Linked DNA regions of Homo sapiens: regions 1, 2 and 3 are each linked to region 4. Evidence: promoter capture Hi-C in 16 types of primary human blood cells and fetal thymus (Javierre and others, 2016). All regions are on one chromosome and are shown on one strand. The core of a region is centred on a gene start or on the middle of the fragment in contact, and the rest is flanking DNA. Distances in the headings are between cores, read along the strand shown.

Region 1 (6,663 bases), core at 2,984-5,483, 4.0 Mb after region 4:
AATATTGAGTTGGTTCCCTAGCATTCTCCAAAAGTGATCACTTAAAAAATTGAAATATGACTCTTATACTATCAAATTCACCCTTTTAAAGCATACATACGTCACTAATTTCTAGTACATTTACAAAGTTGTGCAACCATCACCACTAGTTGATCATTTTTAAAGTCTCATAAATTCATTAACATATCCACTATGTTTCACTCCATAGCAATTTTTTTTGACATCCAAATTTTCTTAATGTTAGACAACCTAGTAAGCTTGGACACTTTCTTCTTTTGCTTTCTGCTATAAGGAGATGTTCCTGGCTTATCTTATACTTTCCTGCTCCAGCCCTGGAATCAATCACTTCTCCCTTTCCTTTGGTGGGAAACTGTAGAGGCCCCAACTTGGACACCAGGGGTGCTCACTGCTACTGCTCATTGTTTCTAGGCCTCTATATTGATTTTTTTATCTCTTTAGTGGAGCTAGTTTGTTTGCTGTGCCCTGTGATTTATAATCCATGAAGAATTTGGCTATTATTTTCAGGAATTAAACAATGTCTTGTTCGACTAATGACTCATGTAAAAAGCACTGCTTGAAAATCACCTATTTGCCAGTCATTGTTTATTTTAAAATTATTCTCCTTGGGGAGAGTGTGTGGCTTAAGGGCTCAGATGAAAAATTCTTACTTGGCATTAATTATGGCCAACTGAATTCCAACAGAAGATGCAACTTGCTCACGCTAAGTATAACCTAAGTATCAGGTGTCAGATAAATGGTTAATTTTTGTAGGGCATGCTTAGTTCAATAAAACTAGGGCCTTTCTAGGGGAAGATAAATATTTTTTAATGTTTGGGATACAAAAAAAAAAAAAGAATTACCACAACTTTATTCAAGAAGGTCTACATTTTCTCATAAGCCAATAATTTATTGCTTCTTATTTGAATTCCCATCAGTCTCCGATGTGGAGTGAAAATCAACAGCTTCTTTTCTGACTAATCTTTCTCTGGAAAAATGATTGAAAGGCCTTCTATCGTTTCTGGCTCAAGGACCTATAAACATGTCAGAGATTTTTAGTTAATTTATTAAAACACTGTCAAAACCTTGAGTAAATGCTTTTAACTATCTGATGTACATTAACAGCTCTGAAGGAACAAATACATTTTAGCACGTAATCAAAATTCCTTTTACTGCTTTGAAACCAGCTATTTTGTATTCATAGCATTCTCTTTTGAAATGTTCTGCTCTCGACCTCCCTAGATAAAATTTCCTTTTATTATGTTTACTTAAGTGAGAAAATGAAAGTACTTAGGAATGTTTTTATTTTGCCTTACACAGCCTCCTTATTCGAGTTCCCCAAGGGCAAGCACATCTTTGTTACTTCCTGTGCCCAGAATTCTAAAGGTCCCTAATACGAAAACAATTATCAAGGCAAGATAGGCTGCAGTAGGTCCTTTAAGTGCAAGATGTCTGGTGCTTAATTACCAAATGCTTTCAAGGATCTTAGGTGTCCTCAAGGTCCTATTGTGAGTACTTTCATAAAATGCATTTTGTATTTTGTCACATCAAACAATTTCTGATCTCTGCTGTTTACACTTCCTTTTCATCTTCACTTTATCATGAGTATAATACTAAGTGTACTTCTAGTGAAATGATTTTTACCATTGTTCTTTTACCAGTTAAACAATGTTCTTTACAGACTTCCATAAATGGGCTTAAAGTACAACTTTACCTTTTTTTAACTAAAAAAAATATAGTTGACCTTATCTGTATAGTCATCTATAAAATAACTGGACTTTATAAAGTTTGCTGGACTTTAATAAAGGTTTATCTAATCTAATAGAACTAGGCCATCCTTTCTTTGTTTCCCACCAAAGTTAACAGTCTCTTCCTGTATGAAAAGTAATGACAAAGGGCTCTTTGAAAGTATCAATCCCTAAACTACTTGTGATCTTTTAAACTGAGAAAACTTCTTTTTCTTTCATGCTCCTTGGACACTGTTTTCTTAAGTGCTTTACACTGGTGGATGTATAAGTATTTTTGATGGTAATTATGGAAAAACTAACAAGAATGGTGACATTAGGTTTTTCTGTCTTGAACATGCTGCTTACAGTTGCATGGATGAAGTGAGGCTCTATTCTTCTTCTTTTTTTTTTTTTTTAATAGAGACGAGGTCTCACCATGTTACCCAGGCTAGTCTTGAACTCCTGGGCTCAAGTGATCCTCTCGCCTCGGCCTCCCAAAGTGCTGTGATTACAGGACTGAACCAGGGAACCTGGCCTCCATTCTTGCCATACCGTAGCATCACACTGAGGCCCTTGGAAAGTACTTAAACGCTGATTATCAATGTTTTGAAATATTAATGTGGGCGGCCGGGCACGGTGGCTCACGCCTGTAATCCCAGCACTTTGGGAGGCCGAGGCGGGTGGATTACCTGAGGTCAGGAGTTGGAGACCAGCCTGGCCAACATGGTGAAACCCCATCTCTACTAAAAAAATAGAAAAATTAGCCAGGCGTGGTGGCAAGTGCCTGTAATCCCAGCTACTCGGGAGGCTGAGGCAGGAGAATCGCTTGAACCCCGAAGGCAGAGGTTCAGTGAGCCAAGATCACGCCATTGCACTCCAGTCTGGGAGTGCAAGAAATATTAATGTGGGCACACAAGCTATTTCTCATTTTTTTTTATTGAAACAACATTGCTTAGTTTCATTTACCTTTCTGTGAAATGTCTTTCTGTGAAAGTCTATCACAGCCTGATGTAATTTTTATAAACAATGAATACATGCTGTTACTATTTTTGAAAGGAAATTTAATCGCTTGGAAAAATTCAGACTAAAGCCCCGAGAGGAAAATTATCATCCAGTGCATGCTCAGAGATTTCTTCTTACTCTACTTTTGTTTTTCCTTTTTGAAAGCATTTGTGATTGAGAGATGTCTGAGGGAAGGGACAAATTGCATTCTGGGAGTTTTAAAGAGTTATGTCAGGCAACTAAAATACGTGGCCTCTGTATTTAAAGAGATTTCACACCAGTATACTATTTGCTTTATAATTTTTGTGTTTCTTATTGTTTAAAAATGCCTTTAACATTTAGTGCTGTGTTAAAGGATAGCATGCCAGATTCCAGATTAATGTAAAGACTCCACTATTTAACTTTTCCCTAGTAACTTTAAAACAGAGTTTGGGTTCCAAGTTCAGCATGGAAAGATAGCATAAACATTTAAACTAAGTAAAGTGCGAAATACACATTTTTGAAGTTGGTAAGTGCTGTTTAATCATTTTCCCCTTCTCTCCCAAGTCTTTTGAAACTTCAAAAGGCTTGTTTAAGCAGTGTGTTTAAAAAAAAAAAAATCCATACCCAATTGGGCTCCTCTCTATTAAGGAATGTGGAAAATTCATGATTTATGAAACGATGACACCAGTCTTACATTTCACAGGCTCCCAAGCTCTGAAACACGGGTACATAGGAAAATACACAGAAAATTCCTGTTCTTTGCAACGTGCGAAACGTTTCAAAATGCAACTTTGCTCATCTCCCTCCCCCGTACAAACTAATAAAATCAGTTTGGCTCTGACTGCTTATTTTTAAAAAGTAGACGGCCTGGTAGGTGCTCTAGGGATAACCCTTCTCCCCCCACTCCACCCCCCTTCCCGCACACCCATTTAGACTGGCAAGCCCGTTTTCATTTTATTTCAAAGATTTTTTTTTTTTAAGCGAAGGCAGGGGACGGCGGGGGTTGCTAAATTTATCTTCCTCCCCAGCCACGGGGATGAAGAAAACACATTTACTGCGGGCGGGGGTCTGAGGGCCTGCAAACAACTCGAGCTGGAGCCTCGGCCAGGACCGGCGCGAGAGGCGGTAGGTCTCCAGGGAGGCCCCCGGGGGGCGGCCGCGGCCCACGGGACATGGTGGGGGGCGGCCGGGCCGCCTGCCTCTCCGCGGGGTCGGCCGACCGCGGCCCCGCGCGGGCTTTACGGCCGAGGCGGCGGCGGCAGCGGCGCGTGTGTGGCGGCGGCGGGCGGGAGCGCGGAGGAGGTGGAAAGAAGGGGGGCGCTGTCACGGAGACTCCGGCCGCCGGAGACCCCGCCGCAGCGAGGCCACTGGGCTCCCCGGTCGCGGGGCGGGAGCGGCGCCGACACGGGGTGCCAGGAGGACCCACCGGGCGGAGGAGGGGGCCTGTCTACCCTTCCGCATTTTCCTGGGTCTCTCTCCCGGGCGGTGACGTGACGTGCTGACGGCGGGCCCGTGCCGGGGAGCTGGGCCGCTTTTTGTCAGCTCCGAGCTCGGCCCCTCCTCCCTCCCTCCGCCCGCCCCACCAGCCGGAGCCCGGCCCAGTGCTCCAGAGAAAGGCCGGCCTGCAGCACCCGCCACCGTCGCCGGCCGCCCGCACGTCCGTCCGGTGAGTCCCGGGTGCCGCCGCGGCCGCGGGGCCTAGTGCGCGCACAGCGGCCTGGTCTCGGCCTGGTCGGCGGCCCGCAAGGCGCCCTCCCGCGCTAGGCCGGGCGGCGTGGCGCGCGGCGCCGAGCAGGCCCCGAGGAGGCCGCAGTTAGGCCCGGGGAGGAGCCCGGCTGCCCCGAGCGGCGGCGGAGGCGCGCTCCGTAAGCGGGCGGGGGTTGGGGGAGGGTCGCCCGGTTGTGCCGGAGGCGGTCGAGGGGCCCCGGGTCGGCTCCGCGGCCGACCTGGGGCACCGCGCCGGGGTGAGGCCTGGCGAGGAGGCGAAGGCTGCAGGCGTGAGGTGAAGGCCGCAGGCCGGCCGGGCCGATTTTCGCTATGTAAATATCGGTGAGGGGGGGGGAGGGACGGGGGACAAGATGGCGGCGGCTCGGCGCCTGCTGCAGGGGACGATAGAGGGGGTTGCCGGGAGGGGGAGCCGCCATCTTGGAGGCGGTGTCTGGAGAGAAAATTCCGCTACAGCCCGTGAGGGGGGGTGGGAGAGCGGGCGGCGGCGGCAGCGGCGCCGGTGACGGGCCCCGGAGGCCCGGCGCGGCGGCGTGTGCGCGCGGAGGGGCGTGCTCGCTCCCCGTGGCGGCCATTGCCCTTGCCGCCATGATGAGCGCTCGGGCTCCAGGCGCTCGGCGGCAGCGCCACCTTCCTGCCTTGCCTCCCGCAGCCCCGTGACTGGCTGCAGTTTCCGCTGCGTTTCAGCTGAGCTGCCGCAGGCGGCCACCGCCGCCGCCCGGACGCCGGGACCGTTTCACCCTCAGCGCCCCTGGCCCTGCGCCTTCCCCCGCGCCTGTAGCCACCCGAGGGCAGTCGGGGCAGGTGGCATTCCGGACACCTGGGCTTACCAGGGCATACGGGACCCCAGGAAATGTTATTTTTGCTTAAGTCAAATCATATGTGGCTGCTAAGGTGCTTTCGATGCAGTTGTTTTTCCAACAATCTTTGCCGCCCCGAGTATCTGAATAAAGGAAGAAAAATAAAGATTGATGGGAAAGTTTTTGCCATTCTTTTGTCCTATAGGGAAAAAAATTGCACAACACGAGAGCGGAGGAATAAAATTTTGAATCATTCGTACTCATTTATGTGGAAACAACTTTCTTGAAAAACGATTTAAGTAGTGATCTGTTGGTGGTATTTTTTTAAATCGAGGAATAAGGGCAGACTTTTTTATTTTCTTATTGGAGGACAACTTAGTGTGGTGCATATTTATTGTGCATTTGCCTGTCATGGTATTTCGATTTTTCATTTGTGAAGTTTTAAGGCGGAGTTTCATCCCCTAACGTACTTTTTTGATTGCACACTGTGCAACTTTCTTGATAAACTCGGAGCCTACTGTTAGCGATGCACCGTGCTAGATGCTAAGAAACATTAAAAAGGTTCTTGTAATGCAGACGGTGGCTGCAAGAAGTCTCATGTTTAGAGGTAGGTGGGGCAAGGTGAAATGCAGTAAAGTGAGAGGTACAACTAATTACTGGGATTTCCGAGGGAAGCAAGGTTGCCATTGGAGGATCAGGGAGGGACGGGTTCCTGAAGTATTAATAGGTGGCATTTTGAGAAGGTTACCGAGGGATGGGTAGGACTTTGTTAGGTAGAGGTGGAGGTGGAGAAAGGACGTTTCAAGGGTGAAGCTTCTTCAGTAAACAGTAAGTATTTACAGTTTGGCAAAAGTGGATGGTATAGGTAGGGGAGTGGTGGGAATTCAGGCTAGAAAAGTTAGATTGCAGAAGGGCTTGCTTGCCAGGTGGAGGGGCTTATACTCAATGGGGTAGGCAGCGGGGGTGCCCTCAACTAGAAGAGTGATGGCACACCTGAGCTGCACCTTGTTATTTACTTATTTTTTATTTTGAGACAGGTTCTTGCTATATTGCCCCAGGCTGGTCTCGAACTCCTGGGCTCAAGCCGTTCTCCCGCCTCCCACTGCCCGCCTGTCACTGCCGTCTGTTCCCTGAGCTGTGCTTTACGGTACTTAGTAGTTCCATTGGACTAGGAAAAGTTTCAAAGTTGAAAAATAATGAGAGTAGTAAGTTGATCAGTGTTTTCATTATCAGAACGATTACAAGAATGTTCAGAAGTTAAGCAAATTTTGCTACTTTTGGAACGATGCGTCTCTATTAAGACAGCTGCTCCTTTTTTCTATCCTGATTTCTCATCCGAAATAATCTTTTGCTCAGAGTTGTCAGAATTTCTATGGTACACAAATAGGGAGGGGTTTCTAACATTTCATTTACCATGGTTGAAAAGTACA
Region 2 (6,187 bases), core at 2,060-4,559, 4.5 Mb before region 4:
AATAGAAGAAAGGTTTCTCAATGATAATCAAGATAGACCTGGAACAATGGCAAGATGTTTAAAGATAAAACATGAAAGCCCACAGGATACAAGTTAAGGAAATCTGAAAACAAACACAAAGGACAGATACAGGATATGGCCAACAGCAGGGACTTGCTGGTAGAGTGGTTCAGAGGAAGATGGGGGAGAGAGCATCAGTGTAGATGCATCTGAAAAGCCAAGTTGGGTTCTGATCTTAGAGGTCAGAGAGTCTGGATTCTCCAACAATGGTCCTGAGAGGCTAATGAAGATTTCAATGTGGGAATGGGTTCATTGTAAATGACACAGAGAAGGACAATGGGAGATGGGAAGGACATTCCCTGACAGTGAGTTTCCAATGTGCCCTTTATTTACTAATCACAGGCTGTTGGACTGGCAGCCCACTACGTGCCCATGACTACAAAAAACAGGAAATTATTTTTCATTGGCCATCTTAATAAAAAGATAAATGAGCTTATTTTAATAATAATTTTAGAATATAGAACAGATGATGTTACAATCTTTTGGTATGCTTAATTTTATGCGCGCACACACACACACACACACACACACACACACACACACACAATTTCCAGTATCCTTGGTAAGCAAGAAACTCTATAATGTGGAATATTTTTGTCTCCATCACATATATCCCCTTTTTAAGATGAGAAATCATATTAAGCAAGGATATTTGAAAAGCTCATCAAATTTTGTAGGTTAATCAGTAGCCATAATCATTATGAACTTTGTCTTATTCTTCACAAGTTAACATTTTTCTACTTCAGAGAAAGTTAATCACTACCGTTTGGAAATAAAAATTAATTCAGATCAACTGAGTGAGTGTAATTCTGCCAACTTTATGCTCCTAAAGTAGCAATTTAAAGGACAGTTTCTTAAATGGGAAAAAAAAAGTATGTGTGTCTGTGTGTTTCATCTTGTGCATGGAGACCAATGCTTTATAATGGGTCTCATGTAGTTAAAGCAAGACATTTCTTTTACAGGTTTAGCTGGTTCCACTGTTGCTCAGGTGTAAGAGTTTTCTCATGATTTGGCAAGTCAATTTTCTCTTTTTACTAGGCTAACAGTATTGCAGCCATGGTCTATGAAATAGTATTTTCCATCCTTAATCATCAATTTGCCCACCAGTTGGAGGTCACCTAGTCACATTTAGCCCTGACAACAGGTACTTCTTTTGCCAACCTCTATAAAGGGTGTGGGGGCGGGGGCGGGATCAGACCACATAACTTTTAGGTTATATGCTCTCATTAATATTAAAGACATATGAATTAATCAATATCTCAGAATTTCTGATCCTACGTTTCGGCCAGTGATGACCCTGAACCCTCTACTGTCTGAAATTCATCAAAAGTCTTATGAGAAATGTTTTTGTGGACTGCCTAAAAGATGTGCACAAGAGATCCCTATTACTACAAATCAGAGATGACAGGTTGTTTGCAGCCATTTGCTCATCCCACACCCATGACAAACATTTTTTATCTATTTCAGAACTTTTTCCTTCTGTGCATGGACTCAGCCACCCCAACTGAGCTATTCAGTCCACTAATATGAATAAATGGGAGTTGACATGTGAGTTGAAACTTATGTGCCATTATGGGGAAAGATTATCTAAATGCTACCCTGAATTAAACCAGACCATTGTGGGGCTGTGTACTCAGTCGAACAGGAAATTTTGGATGGTTCATGAAATTGATTCAGTGCCCTGTGCTTTGTGATTATGCCAACAGTTTCCATTGAGGGAATGTGGGTGTAACAACTTATGACACTTATTTCCCACGTAGCTCACAGCGTCATCATGATGAGGAACTGGGATTTGCCTTGGGGCTAAAAATTATTTTTAAAAAAACAAACAGTGCTTCTCAAAAGCAAACAAAATCCTGATTGATTGGTTTTTATGAACACCGTAAAACTTTAAAATACTTGTTATCTCCTGTTTTCTATGGAAGCTTAGAGTGAGATCTCTTGCCCACCTTCAAAAACTGTTCTGGATCTGAAAGTGTGCATACTTGAGTGTTAATCTTACCATTGGCTACATTATTTATTCTCCCTCCATGAATTTCCCCTCTGGTTCCTTAAACTATAATACTTACTTTATACAGTGTTGCCTATATTTTGGTACGCGGCCTCAAATCATCTGGGAGAAAATAATGCTATAAAAATCAATGCAGTAATTTACACAGGCTGCACTTGATCCCATTTCCGGTGTGTTTAATTTTTCATGCAAAAAATGATTAGCATTGGCAACATTTTATATAAATGAGATAGAGTTCTCAGAGCCAGGGTGAGCTTAATAAAAAATGTTTTGTTGAAAATTGTCTTTTACTCTGTGCTCCTTGTAGCTCAATATTGTGAAAGTTCCCACTGTCTTCAAAGCAGAAATGGATGGAAGGTGGGAAGAGAAAGGAACTTTTACACTTTATATGTGATCATAAAATCTTGATTACTGGCATATGTAGAAGTGTATATAGTAAATCTCACTGCCATGGAGGGAAAAATTGTAATCCTCTATACAAGTGAAAAGGGAATACTTTAAATGAAGATTGAGAATTTATTGTGAAGGGAGCTGTACTAACTGCTATGTAAGTGGCTTCCTATGTTTGCTGCCCCAAAATACTCCTGCTAATTAGAACAACAAACCAGCACTTATCAAGTCCTTTTCCACCTATCAACTCCTTTATTACACCATCTTTAATTTTCTCAATTCTTGTGCCATCTAAACTTGAGTTGGGGAAGCTCAGTCTGTGATCTCTTTGACTCTTGTCTTATTTCTTACTGGAACATAGTACTTGATAAATCTGTCTTGAATGAATGAATGAATGAATGGCTAATGGAAAGTGTCCATCCTCTAAGAATGTCCGTTCAGAAATTTCTGGACAGAAAAGCTGGTAATAACCTCCTCACTTTTTTCCTGTGAACCCAGAATTGCGAATGGAGGGAGTAAAAAAGCGTAATCTTGGAGCAGGGGGCTGCAAACAGAGGTCTGAATGTGGTGGTGTCTAGACAGGACCTAGAGAGCATTAGGGCACCAAGTGCCTAGGAAAAGTCATCAGGAGGACACATCAGGAAGTAGAGGAGTGTGCTTACTCCATGTATCTCCCTAGCATTTAAAGTCCGCTGACTTTAAATGGGCTGGAAGGAACACGGTTCCAGTTTATCTCCATATCGGGTTAAAGGACATGAAACCTAGCTAGAAGGAACATTGCTCCACCACTGGCCCATCAGTTCTGTTTCCTACTCGGTTTTTGCTTAACGAGTTGTGGTGTTTAGAGTTGGGAGATACATGGAGAAAGTCACTTTTTAGGAGAGGATCAGAGATCCGCAGGCTCATTTCACTCTATAAATGCCGCGGACATCTGGTTCCAGGACCTGGACAGTCCTCTCTGGAGACTGGTGGGCCCCTCCAACACCTCCGTGGCTTCCCGGGATCAAGTATCGCACCTAAAAGGAGCGCAGAGAGCGTGCAACTGGCGGGAGAGGCGTGACCAGAGTGGAACCAAAAGTGGGTGGCCTGGGAACCTAACGCGTGACCAGAAGTGAAGGTAGGTAAGTGCGCATGCGCAGGATGCGAGTGGCCAATGAGGACCACAAGGTTGTAGCGTGTGGCCTGAGAGGACGGCCAGGACTGGCCAGAAAAGAGAGGTGTGGAATGCAGTAAGAAAAGTGACGCGGACCAGAGGGGTCTTGCCTGTTCCGAGAGAATGGAAGGGGTTAGCCACGGTGGGAACGGCCACGGCGGGAACGGCCCCGCCAGTGAGGAGCGCAGGCAGCAAGGCTTAGCGGAAGAGGCGTGACCCAGGCGTACCGCAGGGGCGTGGCCCGAACGAGCTGACTTTAGCCCTTACGTGAAAGGCGTGGCGTAGTCGCAAGGGTGTAAAAAAGAAATTCGAATTCGCGGGACGGTCGGCCTCAGGCGGAGTAGGGACGTGAGCCCAAGGGAGGGAGGTGGGGTAGGCAGACTAGTTGTGACTGGATGATCACTGGGCGAAGGGTGGAAAAGTGGCCACAGATGGAAAGGCGGGCTGCGGAGTAGTGACCGGCAAGGGAGGTGGCGCGAAAAGGGAAGTAGGGACATGACGTAGTTGGAACGCAGAGACGTGCCTCGAACGTGGGGGGCGCGGTCCTTACGTGTGGGCGTGCCTTGTTGCTCTGAGGGGCGTAACAAAGATGGTGGAGCAGGCGGAGGGCAGAGGCGTCGGCAAGTTAGCGTGCAGGCGCGTGGCAGCGACAGGAGATGTGTAGCCAGAGCGCAGAGCAGGTGTGGACTCCGGCGCTGGGGAAGCGTGGCCAGGGCGAGATTTCAGCCTGGGTCGGGGACAGAATGGGGACTGATAGGGGCGTAACCTGGAATGACGAAATGACGTTTGCTGCGTAGGGACGTGGCTAAACGTGAGGGGGCGTGGCCAAGATGGCCGCGTGCGGGATCCTCGGGTACCGGGAGCGAACGAGGAGGTTCTGGCTCAGGTAAGTCGTTCGGGTAAGGGCGGGCGGCAGTAAGGAGCGTGGGCAGCAGCAGGGCGTGGTCTGCTTGAGAGGGCAGGAACTGTGCCACTTGCCGCAAACATGACCGCGTGCCGCTATCGGCCCTGGAGCCAGAGAAGCTTTTGGTGCGGCGAGGTTGGCCGGGGCCCTGGCGGGGCTTCTCTGAGGAATGGGAGTGGGAGGCTGGCGGCGGGGAAATAGCCACTTCCCCACTCTAGCCCTCTTTCTCCGCTATGGGGATCACCAGACATCCTTTTAGGATTCTGTCTATTAAAAAGTAGAACAGCTTTCCCAGAGACATTGCGGGATGAGAGGAGTGTCCAGAAACCAAGGAGCAGCAAGCTGGGACTCCCTCGGGTCTGCATTGTTGATATTCCCACCTGACTATGCTAGGGGCTATGGACAGACACAGCCACCCCAGAGTAGATCAAAAGCACAGTTGTGTCCCTTGGACAAATCTGAGTTTTTCTGTTGTGCCTTGCCCCAGAGCCGGAGGAGAGGAACCTCCAAAATGCAGACATTCTTGGTGGCTGGGATTCTGTGTGATATTCAGCGTTAAATGCTGCTGCTCTGAGGCTGCTGGAAACGCGTTAGTATTAATATCTGTGTACTTCTCTCACATTTACTTTTGCTGGAAAAGCTTGGGAAATGACTTAACGAAGATGCGTAAACCTTAATTTGTTTATATGCTCCTTATTAGCCACTGAATACCACATTGCTTTCTGCTTCCCCTTCTTCTTTACTGATAATCTGACCATTTCCACTATGCACTTTGAAAGTCTTGCTGGAGTATGGAGAATAGTCAGAAATCTCTGGTAAGATGCTGCCCCGCGCATCTCTCAGAGGAGTCACTATTCATAGCCTGCATCAGAGTTCACAATGAACCAAAGTTCACCCCACCTCCCCTGTCTTCAGGGACTTAGTGAAAAGCTGCACTGTTCTTGAATATTTTGGAAATGAAAAACTTTCTGGGCTATTTTAAATCAGTACCTGGGCTGGAATTAACCGAAAGGCGAAACAGCAAGGGCACCATTCTCTGTGCCTATACGTAGCTGCCCTGTGCTTGGAACCAAGCAAAAAGGCTGCCACTGCTCACAGTTGCAATGGAATAAAGGTTGAGTGCCTTGTGATTGCATATGAATATTAAGGAAATCTGATGGAAAGAGGGAAATTCATCATGTCACTGGCCACACTGGGGCAGTTAGTTGCAACACACAAATCAGGTATAATATATTTTGAAACCTTTGGCAACCTCAGATTGGGATCACACTCTCAAGGAAGAAGTGAGTGAGAGGAGGAAGCTAAGCTTTCTTAAGACATAGCAGCGTAATCTCTAATTTAAGTTTCAGGAAATTGCAAAAGGCAGGCTTCCTTTTGAAATCAGGAGTTGAGAAAATGAAGAGTCAATCTGATGCCAATCAAGGAATTTTTCAATATAATTGTAACCTTTTGTTAGTACTTTTCCTGTCTCTTTCGCATAAGTTGCTTAATCAGGCAGAGTTCAAGCTATGAGGCATTTAATAAATACATTACTTATGAATGACATTTAAAGACTTTTAGAATCTTTTCTTTTTTCACACATTTCTAAGGCTGCAAAACAACAGAAAAAGAACATGTTAGTAATATCCAAGGCATACATGAATAATCAGTGACAGCAAAGGATGTGTAG
Region 3 (6,195 bases), core at 3,193-5,692, 3.4 Mb before region 4:
ACTGGGACTACAGGTGTGCACCACCACACCCAGCTAATTTTTTGGTATTTTTTGCAGAGATGGGGTTTTGCCATATTGCCCAGGTTGGTCTTGAACTCCTGGAGTCAAGCGATACACCCACCTTAGTCTTCCAAAGTGGTGGGGTTACAGGTGTGAGCCACCGTGCCTGGCCAGAAATGGGTTTTCGTAGGTGAAATTAGTAGCTTATTAGCTTTAGCTAGTATAACAGGCATTAGAGGCTGGGCATGGTGGCTCACACCTGTAATCCCAACACTTTACAAGGCCAAAGCGGGAGGATCTCTTGAGCCTACGAGTTTGAGACCAGCCTGGGCAACATAGGGAGACACCCTCCTACCATTTCTACAAATATATATATATATATATATATATATATATATATATATATATTTAATTAGCCAGGTGTAGTGGTACACACCTGTGGTCCCAGCTACTTGGGAGGCTGAGGCAGGAGGAACACCTGAGCCCAGCAGGTGGCGGCTGCAGTGAGCCGTGATGGCACCACTGAAATCCAGCCTGGGTGACAGAGTGAGACCCTGTCACCAAAAATAAATAATAAAAATAAAAATAACAGCATTAGAATGGGCTCACATTAGTGAAATCAGGGATATTCAAGATATATGCATTGTTTAAAATATGTGAGACTCTACTCACTTTTGCGTTAAAAGAGTATAAGAATCTTTCTTAAAAAAAAAATCTTTGTCATACAGACAATTAATAAGAAAAAAAAAAAGAATCTAGCAAGTCCGAAGCTTGTTTCCTTCAGGATAATACTCTAGGCTAAACCTCTAAACCGTCCTGTGTCCAGCTATAAACTCTGAGGGTTGCAGTTTCCTGATATCGGCTATAAGGCCAACAGAATCCTGCCTCTGTAATAGTGGTGAGTCCACCTTGAGAGCTCTACATTTCATCACAACGGTGGTCAGAGCATCTCAAAGGTCAAAGAGTTGGGACCTCATTGAGCTTACTGTTCACATGAATTGTTTGATGCCTGCTTGCTCAAGACTTTAATAAACATCTGAATAAATGGAGCCATATTCAGGTTATATTCACATTCCTTAGGGAGCCTGGAGAGAACACCCCGTACCCAATGAGGAGCTATTGTTCTGGTGGCCTTTACCCTTCTAGCAGGCACAGTGTTTGTTTTTTTTTTTTTTTTGAGATAGAGTTTCCCTCTGTCACCCAGGCTGGAGTGCAGTGGCATGAACTCGGCTCACTGCAACCTCTGCCTCCTGGGTTCAAACGATTTTCCTGCCTCAGCCTCCCCGAGTAGCTGGGACTACAGGCACACGCCACCATGCCCAGCTGATTTTTTTTTTTTTTTTTTGTATTTTTAGAAGAGACGAGGTTTCACCATGTTGGTCAGGCTGGTTTCAAACCCCTGACCTCAGGTGATCCGCCCTCCTCTGCCTCCCAAAGTACTGGGATTACAGGCGTGAGCCACAGCGCCCGGCTTTTTTATTTGATAACTTTATTTATTTAGAGACGAGGTCTCGCTTTGTCGCCTACGCTGGTTTCAAACTCCGGGGCTCAGGCGATGCTCTTGCCTCAGCCTCCTAAACTGCTGAGATTACAGGTGTGAGCCACGCCTGCAGGCACAGTTAAAAGACAATAGTCCTGGCGCAAAGGTGAGATCAATGTAAACAGAACATTGGATGACCCTTAAAGTCTTGGACATAAAGAAAGGATAGGCCAGGCATTGCGGCTCAAGCCCGTAATCCCAGCACTTTGGGAGGACGAGTTGGGCAGAGGACGAGTCGGGCAGAGCACTTGTGGCCAGGAGTTTGAGAGCAGCCTGGCCAACATGGCGAAACCCCATCTCTACTAAAAATGCAAAAATTAGCCGGGTGTGGTGGTGCACGCCAGTAATCCCAGCTACTAGGGAGGCTGAGACACGAGAATTCCTTGAACCTGGGAGGTGCAGATTGCAGTGGGCTGAGATCATGCCACTGCACTCCAGCCTGGGCGACAGAGCAAGACTCTGCATTAAAAAAAAAAAAAAAAAGAGGCCAGGCACGGTGGCTCAGGCCTGTAATCCCAGCACTTTGGGAGGCCGAGGTGGACGGATCACAAGGTCAAGAGATGAAGACCATTCTGGCGAACGTGGTGAAACCCCCTCTCTACTAAAAATAGAAAAATTAGCTGGGCGTGGTGGGGCGCGCCTGTAATCCCAGCTACTTGGGAGGCTGAGGCAGGAGAATCACTTGAACCCGGGAGGCAGAGGTTGCAGTGAGCCGAGATTGGCCACTGCACTCCAGCTTGGGCAACAAGAGCAAAACTCTGTCTCAAAAAAAAAAAAAAAAAAAAAGATATGCATTTAATTCAATTAAATATTTTTCATTTCTCTGAAGGCTTGGGGTTAATGGCATAGTTCTTTTCTTTTCTTTTTATTTTTTGAGACGGAGTCTCGCTCTTGTTGCCCAGGCTAGAGTGCAATGGCGTGATCCCGGCTTACTGCAACCTCCGCCTCCCGGGTTCAAGCGATTCTCCTGCCTCAGCCTCCCTAGTAGCTGGGATTGCAGGCACGTGTCACCACGCCTGGCTAATTCTATTTTTAGCACAGACCGGGTTTCACCACGTTGGTCAGGCTGGTCTTGAACTTCTGACCTCAGGTGATCCGCCCGCCTCGGCCTCCCAAAGTGCCGGGGTTACAGGCGTGAGCCACCGTGGCCGGCCTCTTTCCTTAATAAAGATAACTTTATTGATTTTTTTCATTCCATACATACTTAAACAATATAGAAAATCATGAAATTTGAAACCAGCCTGGGCAACATAATGCCCCATCTCTAAAAAAAAATTTTTTTTTGAGGAATAACTTACTTTTGTGTGTGTGTGTGTGATGGAGTTTCTCCTCACCCAGGCTGGAGTGTTCAATGGCACGATCTTGGCTCACTGCAACCTCTGCTGCCCGGGTTCAAGCGATTCTCCTGTCTCAGATCCCAAATAGCTGGAATTACAGAAGCCCACCACCGGCTGGGGGCGGTTGCTCACACCTGTAATCCCAGCACTTTGGGAGGCCGAGGAGGGCAGATCAGGGGGTCAGAAGTTCAAGACCAGCCTGGCCAACATGGTGAAACCCCTCTCTCTACTAAAAATACAAAAATTAGCCCAGCGTGGTGGCACGTGCCTGCAATCCCAGCTACTCGGGAGGCTGAGGCAGGAGAATTGCTTGAACCTGGGAGGCGGAGGTTGCAGTGAGCTGAGATCGTGCCACTGCACTCCAGCTTTGGGTGACAGCAAGACTCCGTCTTGGGAAAACAAAAACAAAGAAAAAAGAAAAGCCCACCACCACCACCATGCCCGGCTAATTTTTGTATTTTTAGTAGAGACGGAGTTTCACTGTGTTGGCCAGGCTGGTCTGGAACTCCTGACCTTGTGATCCACCCGCCTCGGTCCCCCAAGGTGTTGGCATTACAGGCGTGAGCCACCGCGCCCGGCCTCATAATGAATTATTTAAGACAATATATCAGGATTTCATGATGGTCTGTGCCTTTCAGAAGCTCGGCCATTGGAGATCTGGTTCCATCAGATGGAAATAGGGAATATTCCTGAGGAAATCTCCCCTCTCCCCCCCAACATCATATCAATAAAAAAAAAAATTCGGTTCAGCAAACCGAGTTTGTTGAAAAAATTTAGGTAATGAAACGAGTAAATGGGGTGGGAGAAAGCAGGATACATTCAACATGAATGAAGTGCCAAGTAAGTGTGCAGAAGCCGGGGCGGTTCAACCAAGGTGAATAGAATGCGGCACCTATCCCGCGGGAGCTCGGGACAAGTAAACCGTGGTAACAACTCTGGTGGAGGGGCAGGGCTCGGGGCAGGTGCCCGAGCACGAAACTTCAAATTCTAAGAGCCAATACACCTTCCGTCTTGAAAGTCGTGAAGTATTTTCCCTTATCCCCAAATCATTCGCGCCCAATTCCTAAGAACGGCAACAAAAACAAAAACACAAGAATGTGTCGCCGATCGTGCTCCTTCTCAAACACGGGGATATTTCTAAACTTTCCGCGAAAGATCATAACGAGTACCTTCCTATAGCCAGACATCGCCCCCAGAAACCGCAAGTCCCACTAGGATGCACACGAAGCACACTGGGTGCAGCACTCTCCCCTTTTCAGAACGCCGCCTTATGTCCCAATCCCGATCCGAGCCTGCGAGCTGTGGCCGCACGCCCTGCTGGGACTTGTAGTCCACTCCCGAGTCCCATTCCCGATCCGCGCAGACTCACACGGCCTCTATCTGCCCTTCGGTCTTGCTGAAGCCCAGCCCAGTATTCAATGCTCCCCATCCCCATCTCGCTCCGTCCCCTCGGGGGCCAACCTCCTCCGGTCACGTGGGAAGTCTCACATGCGGCGATTGGTCGTGGGGGCTCGGGGGCGGGGCGAAAGGCCCTGCGAGATTCTGTGCCCCTTGTCGGGCCGCTTGTTTGGCTGCTGCCGTCACCTCATGGCGACGCGGGTAGAGGAGGCAGCGCGGGGAAGAGGCGGCGGCGCCGAAGAGGCGACTGAGGCCGGACGGGGCGGACGGCGACGCAGCCCGCGGCAGAAGGTCAGTCAGGGGGACGCCCTCGTTGTTGTCGGGCCCGGGGGATGTTTGGGCTCCCTTTTTCAGGGTCCACCTCTTCTCTCTCCCTGGTTACCTATAGCCACGGGACGAACATCCGGTCTTCTTCCCTCCCGGGGGTGACGACAGTGGGAGCAGGTGGGGGGGGGTGGGACCGCGATGGATGGGGTGGGAAGGGACGACGGTTGGGGTTTGGCGGCGCGCGGCGGGGAAGCCGGGAGGGAGGGCAGGGGGCGCACGCGGTTCTAAGGGAGAAGGGGTGCGAGGCGGGGGTGCGCCAGGTGTGACAGCCACGTGCGGCCAGCACCGCGGGGATCCGGGCGCCAGGCGTTCCTTCTCCCAGTCACCGCCGTCACCGTGCTCCCGGCGCTGAGCGCCGCCGTCCGGGGGCTCGCTGGGGTCGTGGGCTCGCCCTCCTGGCGTCGGGCAGGTGCGCAGGGCGCGCTGCGGGGTGCCCCCGGGCTGCTCAGGCTAGGCTGTTGCGCAGTAAGATAACCGCGCGGGAGCCGGGGTGTGCTTGGCCCCCCTTCCCCCGCCCCCCTGCGCTCCCCGCCACTGCGCGGGCGGGCAGGCGAGCGGGTGAGTGTCGCAGGGCCGGTGCGAGCGGGACGCTCGGCCCCCGGGACCTAGACCCCGGGGCTCCGAGGGCTTGGCTGCACGTGGGGCCGGGGATGGATGGGGAGGCGATGCTGGAGGACCTCGGTCCTGCAGAGTTGGGATATCGCATGATAGCTGGTCCTCCCAGTCCTATTTACCACCCTCCTCTTTTTTCCCCTCTTTTTTTTCTTTCATTTATTATTTTTTTAATTTGATGAGTGGAAACTTGAATGCCTTCCCGACCCTGGCCTTGGGTCTTTCTTAATCTGGGAAACAGGCCGGACTGTTCCCCTTGCCTTACTTGACTCACGTCAAGGAGTTTTCAGTCCCTCCCTAGATACAGGAAAATTGAGACCTCTTTCAGAACGGGACAATTCCACTTGTTCTGGAGCTCAGTGGGTGGAGTTTGAAAAAGATTGCACAACGAACGGGGTACAGGGTTTTCGGGGCCCTGGAATGGATAATTGCGGGGACTGAGACTGGGAAGGTGGGAACCCCATCTCTTTTTTTCCTTGCAGGTGAACATACTGAAACGTTCGACTTGTTGGATATCTTGCTTGATCACCGAGGGCTATTTAATATTACTTAATTATGTATTTGAACACTCTTAACTCCTGTATGAAATTACGAAATAATATTTTTCTAATGCAATTCATAAACTTCAAATGGGAGAACAAAGGTCCAGTTTACGTCTGAGCAGAGTGTTAAGAATTAGCTTTTTGGGGCCTGTTTCTAAGGTCAGGTATTTTCATGTTTCTGCATGACAGTGTTACTACTTCTCAATTACCTCTCTTTCTTTCTCTCCCTCTCTTTGTATTCTAAAAGAAAGATCCAGTGCTTGCAGGACTGAAAAAGAAGCTGTGGACCAATGTCCTGTAAGGGATTCAACACCATCACTTTGGACACTTCACTTATTCCCTAAGGGTGGAGTGCCAATCTCAGTGTTTGATTTCGTAGGTTCCCCAGGGGAGGAGGACTCTGATAAAAAGCCACTGCAATTGAGGATATAAGTTCCCT
Region 4 (6,576 bases), core at 291-2,790:
CACCACACTTCACCCTGGGCGATGGGCAAGACGCTGTCTCAAAAAAATAAAGTCCCCAGCTAAAAAAGAAAGGATGTTATTTTAAAAAGCGTAATTTATGAAAACACTTACCCTGACCATCCTCTTTGAATACCAGTTCTCTTTTTTCAGATTCATTCTCATTCTTACCCCTGCGTCTGTTTTTACCTCCTTTACCTGATGGTTTAAAAAAAAGAAAAGGAGGTAAATGACATTAATTATCTGTAAAACAGTATGAAATAAAATGAAATTAAGGCTTATAAAACCATTTTTTAAAAGATCACTTAAATTAAAAAATTCATCTATTTTAGCTACACAATCATATTAAATTTACAATCTCCAATCCCAACATTAACACATTATCACCTCCCTACCCTTCTTGGAATTTCCTTTGGGGATTTTTCTGACATAAAATACACATAAATAGCAGATATTATGTTAAAAAATATAGAAAAACATTTCACTTTAGCACCCATCCTTTTGAAATAAAAATGCAATTCTATACATATTCTTCTAAGCGGAAATCTTGGGTGTCTTCTAAAGCCAGGCCCTATGCAAGGAACCCGATACTTTCAAAATTAAGTGAAGACAGTGTCTGGACAGAGAACTGTGGTTTTCAAACTTTTGGTAGCAGAGTACCATAAATATTGAAATCTCACTGGGTGCAGTGGTGTGCGCCTAGGGTCTCAGCTACTCAGGAGGCTCAGGTGGGAGGATCACTTGAGCAAGCCCAGGAGGTTCCAGGCTAGCCTGGGCAACATAGCGAGACACTGTCTCTTAAAAAATAAAGAAGATCTGTTCGGTACCCAATTTACTTTCTTTTATAATGCTGGTCCCTACTCAACATCCCTGTTTCTATTATATGACCCCAGTGACCATGCTCTTAACCACTATGCAATAATTCTGCCCATTTACTTGTCACAATCACCCCATGAGGTCATAACATTCATTTATTCCCAGTTTACCCATGAGTTCCCTGAAGCTCAGAGAAGTTAAGTAAGTCGCTTAGCTTCAGTGAGTAAATCAGTTCACTGATTACAGTCAGTAAGCTGGGGTGACCAAAGTCACAATGTTTTTTTTGCCCCTAGCCCCCACATAAGCTTACCTCTCCACAGCATTTTGCTCCCATTCCAGAAAGGAAACCACATTGGCAGCCATTTCCAAAAGGCAGGAAAAAGGCTGTAAGTGGTAATGACCCTAAGAGACTCATGGGAAGAGCTTGGAAGCAGCAAAAAAAAATGGAGGACACTTAAATTAGGTCATGAAAAGTACCATTCCTCTAAGTAAGATAACTAAGAACTGATTGGTTTCAGACAGTACAGGAATGATAAACACCAAACTCAGCCTGGTGATTACCTCCAAAAAGAGAGTAAAAGGTGATTAGGGCTTTACCTCAATCTGCGCTGTAATTCTTAAATTCAGAGTAATGGGTTCCCAGGTATATCATGTTAGCTGTATTTTTTGTATGCCTCAAATGTTATTTAAGAAAAGACTAATTACTTGTCAATTTACCAGAATTAACCATACCCGGATCACTCCCCTTTGTATTTTATTGCCATGTAATGGGATGTTCTTTAAATTCTCTGTTGAATGAATGAGACTAGGTCTGAGTGTACAACAATTAAAGTGACATCAACATTCTTTAAACCAGAGTTGTTTTGGAGAAATTCCCAGAGAGGCTCTTTCTTAAGACATGAGGCTAGGGAACTAGATGTGATTTAGTGTAGAAGTCCTATCCCCTTGGAACCAAAGCAGAACCTATTATTCACTAAGGGTGGAGTCGACAGGAGGTAGGTGACTTAAACCAACAAATATTTATTAAGCATCTACTAATTGTCAAGTGCTGGCAATCCAATGAGATTAAGACAGATACTATTCCTGCCTTGTAGAGCTTACAGCCTGGTGGAAGAATTGGAAATCTTATTACTAGAAATAAAGGTGAGAATAAGATGGAAGTGATCCCCTTACCACCTCAGAGAGAATAAAGGATTATACAGAAGAAAACTGTAAGACTTTAAAATTTTTTGTTTATAACTCCATCTTTTCCAAAATAATGAGCAGTGACTGCACCAACTTGTGCACAGAACACCTCGACCAAGTACCCTAAGGGATAAAGTAATAAGTGACAGCTACAAAGAGGAAATGTGGTAGAATCCCTGGAGCCAGCTGTCAAGTAGAAAAGAGAGCAGAAGTAGGCCTGTGTCAGGGGAGGGTTTCCTCTAGAATGAATAATCAAAGGAGACTACTTACGGACTATGAAGTATGCTCCTCTCCTGTAGGAAAATACAGTATTTTCCCTATATTTACTTGCACAATTTTCTTCAAGTTATACGGCTATTAAAAATGACAGGAACACTGTAAATCTATAAAAGTAATTTCTTTAGGAGTGTTCTGTTTTTTGTTTTTGTTTTTTTTTTTTTAAGATTAGGCCTTCCGTTTTGGAAATCCCAAATAAAGTTATCCTCAAGTCTGATCATTTGTGAACGCTTAGCCTCAGAATGGAGGACACTTAAATTAGGTCTTTATTCTCACAACATATGCATCATCTGAAGCAAAAGTAGAAAACTTGGCTCAATATGGAATAAGTCTTCAGCAAACAAACATAAGCTATATCCTGTAAAGGGATGGAGAGAGTAAATCTCTAGAGGTGAGCCTTAGAAATGTATCAAGGTTTCACCCACTGTTCACAAGGGACAGCGAGTAGCCTCAACAATACTGAACTGTCCATAAAGAAACCCATGCAGGAGTACCTGGTGCTCACGAATGCAGACAGCACTCTGAAAGTTCAGAACGGCTTCCAGGGATTATAACCCCTCATGCCCGGGAAGGCCAAAGGGGCCTATCTACTAAACCTAGGCCGCCCCGGGGAAGGTTCCCGCCACCGTCCCCACCGAGCAGCGGTCAGTCTGGCGCGAATCAGGAGCAAAAGCCCACATTCTCCCGCAGGAGGCCCTACAAAAATGGCGCCGGCTCCACCCCAATGTGACCAAACTGGGCAACAGGAGTTAACTTCCCAGCTCCTCTCCCGAGCTCAGAGTCGCGTGTGGGGCGCCCAGCCGCGGGCAGGCAGGGCGGGAAGGAAAAAGGGTCACTGCGGCCTGGGTGACCTGCAATCTACGGGCAGGACCTGGGAGACCCGGCCGAGCAGAGCCGTGGTCCGGGGGTCCGGGCGGCATTACCTTTATTCTTGGGCATGGCGGTGGCGGCGACCTCGCGGCGTCTCTGACTTCTTTCCGGGTAGCGGCGACCGCGGCGGCTGCTGCTCCGAGGGGCGACACGAGGGAGCGCGCGGGACCAAGTAGGTGCTGGAGGCCAGGCAACGTGCGCGGGAGAGGCTGGCGACCCAGCTCTTCAGAGATCCGCCTGCGTCCACGCTCGGCGGCAGCAAATGGCGCCGCGACTCTTTGCGTCGCTTTTCCCCGCCTCCCGTCGCCGGCTGGGCCCGCCCCCAGGCTTTATGACGCAGGCGTGGCCGACTGACTCCTATTGTTAGAGCCGAGGGAGACGCGTTGTGGGAGGGTGCGCAGCAAGCCAGAGAGGACGCGAGGGGCAGGGCCTCAAGCAGGGAAAAGGCGGAGTCAGGGAGGGAGGGGGAGAGACTCTGCGTCATAGAAAAGGGCGGGTTGAGGTGGCGCTTGCTGCTGGTTAAGACCAGACCTCTGCTGCTTTGTAGCAAACGCGCGTCTCCCGGTTTCACAAGTGGCTGACTCGTTAACCTCGTGGTTAGCTCAGTTTTTAAAAAATATGTATATTTTTATTTTTATTTTATTTTTTGAGACGGAGTCTTGCTCTAGAGTCGCCCAGGCTGGAGTGCAGTGGCGCGATCTCGGCTCACTGCAACCTCTGCCGCCCGGGTTCAAGCGATTCTCCTGCCTCGGCCTCCGGAGTAGCCGGGATTACAGGCACGTGCCGCCACGCCCGTCTAATTTTTGTGTTTTTAGTAGAGACGGGGTTTCAGCATCTTGGCTAGGCTGGTCTTGAACTCCTGACCACGTGATCCATCCGTCTCGGCCTCCCAAAGTGCTGGGATTACAGGCGTGAGCCACCGCGCCCGGCCAATATTTTAATTTTTTTATTAAGATGGAGTCTTGCTCTATCGCCCAGGCTGGAGTGCAGTGGCGCGATCACGGCTCACTACAACCTCCGCCTCCCGGGCTCAAGCGATTCTCCTGCCTCAGCCTCCCGAGTAGCTGGGATTACAGGCATGTGCCACCATGCCCAGGTAATTTTAGTACTTTTAGTTGAGACGGGGTTTCACCATGTTGGCCAGGCTGGTCTCGAACTCGTGACCTCAACTCGCGCCCACCTCGGCCTCCCAAAGTGCTGGGATTACAGGCGTCAGCCACCGTGCCCAGCCGGTTAGCTCATAACGCAGTCCTTTCACTCGCCCAGCCGGGTTGGGAGCCTGATGGGAAGGGCAAGGCTTTCCTGGCATCCATTACCAAAGCATAATATTTGCATGGCACTTGTTATTACTCTTTAAGTCTGTCTGTCCTACCTCACTGTAAACCTTACCGGGCAGAGACCATGTTTGTTGCTTACCATTACCCCCACTTAGCTGAATGTCTGGCACATAATAGGTGTTCAATACACACAGAAAGGAAGGGAGGGAGGGGAGAAAAGACTTAAGCTCAATGTTAATGGGCTGAATTGTGTCCCCCCCAAAATTCGTATGTTCACGTTCTAATCCCCAGTAACTCAATGTGACTGTATTTGGACATAAGTTCTTCAAAGACGTGATTAAATTGAAATGAGGTCATTAGTGTGGACCCTTATCTGACTGGTGTCCTTACAAGAAGATATTATTAGGCCACAGGCATAGAGGGAGAACACCACGTGAACAAGAAGGTAGCCATCTATAAGCCCAGGAGAGAGGCCAACCCTGTTGACGCTTGATTTTAGACTTTCAGTCTCCAGAACAATGAGAAAATAAATTTCTGTTGTTTAAGCCACTCAGTACGTGGTACTTTGTTATGACAGTCCTAGCAAACTAATACAGCTGGCTAATGCTGGGCTGTACTCTACAAGATTTATTTCTAAGTAAACTTATTTTGACTAAACCAAGTAAACTTATTTTAAATAAATCACCTTTCCACAAACACCAGGGTTTGCACATACTTAGAAGACAGAAATAAAGTATCATCATCTAATATAGTGGTTCTTTTCTGTGAACATTTGGCAGCGTCAACCAGAAATGTTTCTGGTTGTCATAACTTGAGGAGGGGGGCAGTGATGCTGGCATCTAGTGGGCAGAGGCCAGGGATGCGGCTAAACATCCTACAGTGCACAGTACAATCTCCCCTCCCCCATACAAGCAAACAATTATCCAGCCCAAAACATCAGCAGAGCTGATATTGAGAAACCCAATGACAGATGCACTTCTTAGAGTGAAATTGAAAGATAATGGGGGACTCAAAGTTCTGGGTTTCTCTTTCTATCTGCAATATTTTTCAATTTACATAATTGAGGATGAAAGGATTTTTTATGAAATTTATTTAAATTTTGCTCCAAGGTCAAATAATTATGAACTTGAGCTTTGGAGTTAGAGAGGCCTGGGTTCAAATTCAAGCTCTGCAGTAACTTATTACTCTATTTTCTTGGGCAAGTTTTAATCTCTTTACAAGCTTCCGTTTTCTCATCTGTAAATTGGATGTAGGAATAGTACTAACCGGCCAGGCGCAGTGGCTCACACCTATAATCCCAGCACTTTGGGAGGCCGAAGTGGGCGAATCACCTGAGGTCAGGAGTTCGAGACCAGCCTGGCCAAAATGGTGAAACCCCATCTCTACTCAAAAATTCAAAAATTAGCCGGGTATGGTGGCAGGCGCCTATAGTCCCAGCCACTTGGGAGACTGAGGCAGGAGAATCACTTGAACCCAGGAGGCGGAGGTTGCAGTGAGCCAAGATCGCGCCACTGCACTCCAGCCTGGGCAACAAGAGTGAAACTCCATCTCCAACAAACAAACGAACAAAAAAAAAGAAAAAAAAAAGAATAGTACTTACATTAGGTTGTTGCAGGAATTAAATTGATATAATGCATTCAATTAGCAATTGTGCCTAGTACATGGTAAGTAGTTAGACTCTAAGAGTCCGGAACTCTAAATGTTTAAAAATAAAAAGTTTCTGTCAATTACCCAGTATAAAACCTCAAAGAGGAAAAAAAAATATCAGGCTTCATTTCTCTACTGTAGGATGGTTCCCCCATCTGACTGATCATCTTAATCACTTGGAAGGAAGTGAGTCAGGTGGACATCTGGGGGAAATGTGTTCTAGGCAGAGAGAACAGCAAGGGCAAAGGCCCTGAGTGGAAGCATGCTTGGTATATTCAGGAAACAGCAAGAAGCCAGGTGCAGTGGCTTCCACCTGTAATCCCAGTGACTCAGGAGGCTGAGATGGGAAGATCGAGCTTGAGGCCAGTAGTTCGAGACCAGCCCAGGCAACATAGCGAGACCCACCCCCCCATCTCTAAAATAATAAACACACGACAGTAAAAAAAGCCAGGCATGGTAGTTCACATCTGTAGTCCCAGCTACTTGGGAGGCTGAGGCAGGAGGATCC

Evidence for each region. The method cuts DNA at HindIII sites, captures the fragments that hold promoters and counts their contacts. A CHiCAGO score of 5 or more calls a contact.
Region 1: the fragment with the promoter of ZFX-AS1 here is called in contact with the fragment with the promoter of EIF1AX-AS1 in region 4 in 2 of 17 cell types (fetal thymus and total CD4 T cells); the score reaches 7.3 in fetal thymus.
Region 2: a fragment that was not itself captured here is called in contact with the fragment with the promoter of EIF1AX-AS1 in region 4 in 1 of 17 cell types (fetal thymus); the score reaches 5.2 in fetal thymus.
Region 3: the fragment with the promoter of TXLNG here is called in contact with the fragment with the promoter of EIF1AX-AS1 in region 4 in 1 of 17 cell types (naive CD8 T cells); the score reaches 5.4 in naive CD8 T cells.

The regions. Positions count from the first base shown.
Region 1 is chrX:24,145,421-24,152,083 of GRCh38, forward strand. It overlaps ZFX-AS1 (ZFX antisense RNA 1), which reads right to left and starts at 4,234. Exons shown (of 3, transcript NR_046657.1): 1 at 4,135-4,234; 2 at 3,333-3,422; 3 at 805-1,031. It overlaps ZFX (zinc finger protein X-linked), which reads left to right and starts at 4,309. Exons shown (of 10, transcript NM_003410.4): 1 at 4,309-4,374; 2 at 6,271-6,380. RefSeq lists enhancers at 3,646-3,745, 3,952-4,765 and silencers at 3,856-4,215, 4,276-4,685, 4,706-4,755, 4,806-5,315. The HindIII fragment of the contact is 5,789 bases long and covers 256-6,044 here.
Region 2 is chrX:15,671,279-15,677,465 of GRCh38, forward strand. CA5BP1-CA5B (CA5BP1-CA5B readthrough) reads left to right here and starts at 4,180. Exons shown (of 12, transcript NR_160544.1): 1 at 4,180-4,500. It also overlaps a transcript of CLTRN not described here and the pseudogene CA5BP1. RefSeq lists enhancers at 3,109-3,612, 3,845-4,463, 4,136-4,255. The HindIII fragment of the contact is 2,652 bases long and covers 1,984-4,635 here.
Region 3 is chrX:16,782,024-16,788,218 of GRCh38, forward strand. TXLNG (taxilin gamma) reads left to right here and starts at 4,443. Exons shown (of 10, transcript NM_018360.3): 1 at 4,443-4,566. The coding sequence starts at 4,465. LOC124905250 (a long non-coding RNA gene) reads right to left here and starts at 4,243. Exons shown (of 2, transcript XR_007068398.1): 1 at 4,047-4,243; 2 at 3,637-3,940. RefSeq lists enhancers at 3,839-4,038, 4,010-4,742 and a silencer at 4,789-5,228. The HindIII fragment of the contact is 8,203 bases long and covers 769-6,195 here.
Region 4 is chrX:20,138,428-20,145,003 of GRCh38, forward strand. It overlaps EIF1AX-AS1 (EIF1AX antisense RNA 1), which reads left to right and starts at 1,541. Exons shown (of 2, transcript NR_046592.2): 1 at 1,541-1,808; 2 at 1,908-2,017. It overlaps EIF1AX (eukaryotic translation initiation factor 1A X-linked), which reads right to left and starts at 3,411. Exons shown (of 7, transcript NM_001412.4): 1 at 3,198-3,411; 2 at 112-195. The coding sequence starts at 3,213. RefSeq lists enhancers at 2,653-2,812, 3,143-3,412, 3,473-3,522. The HindIII fragment of the contact is 4,524 bases long and covers 1,117-5,640 here.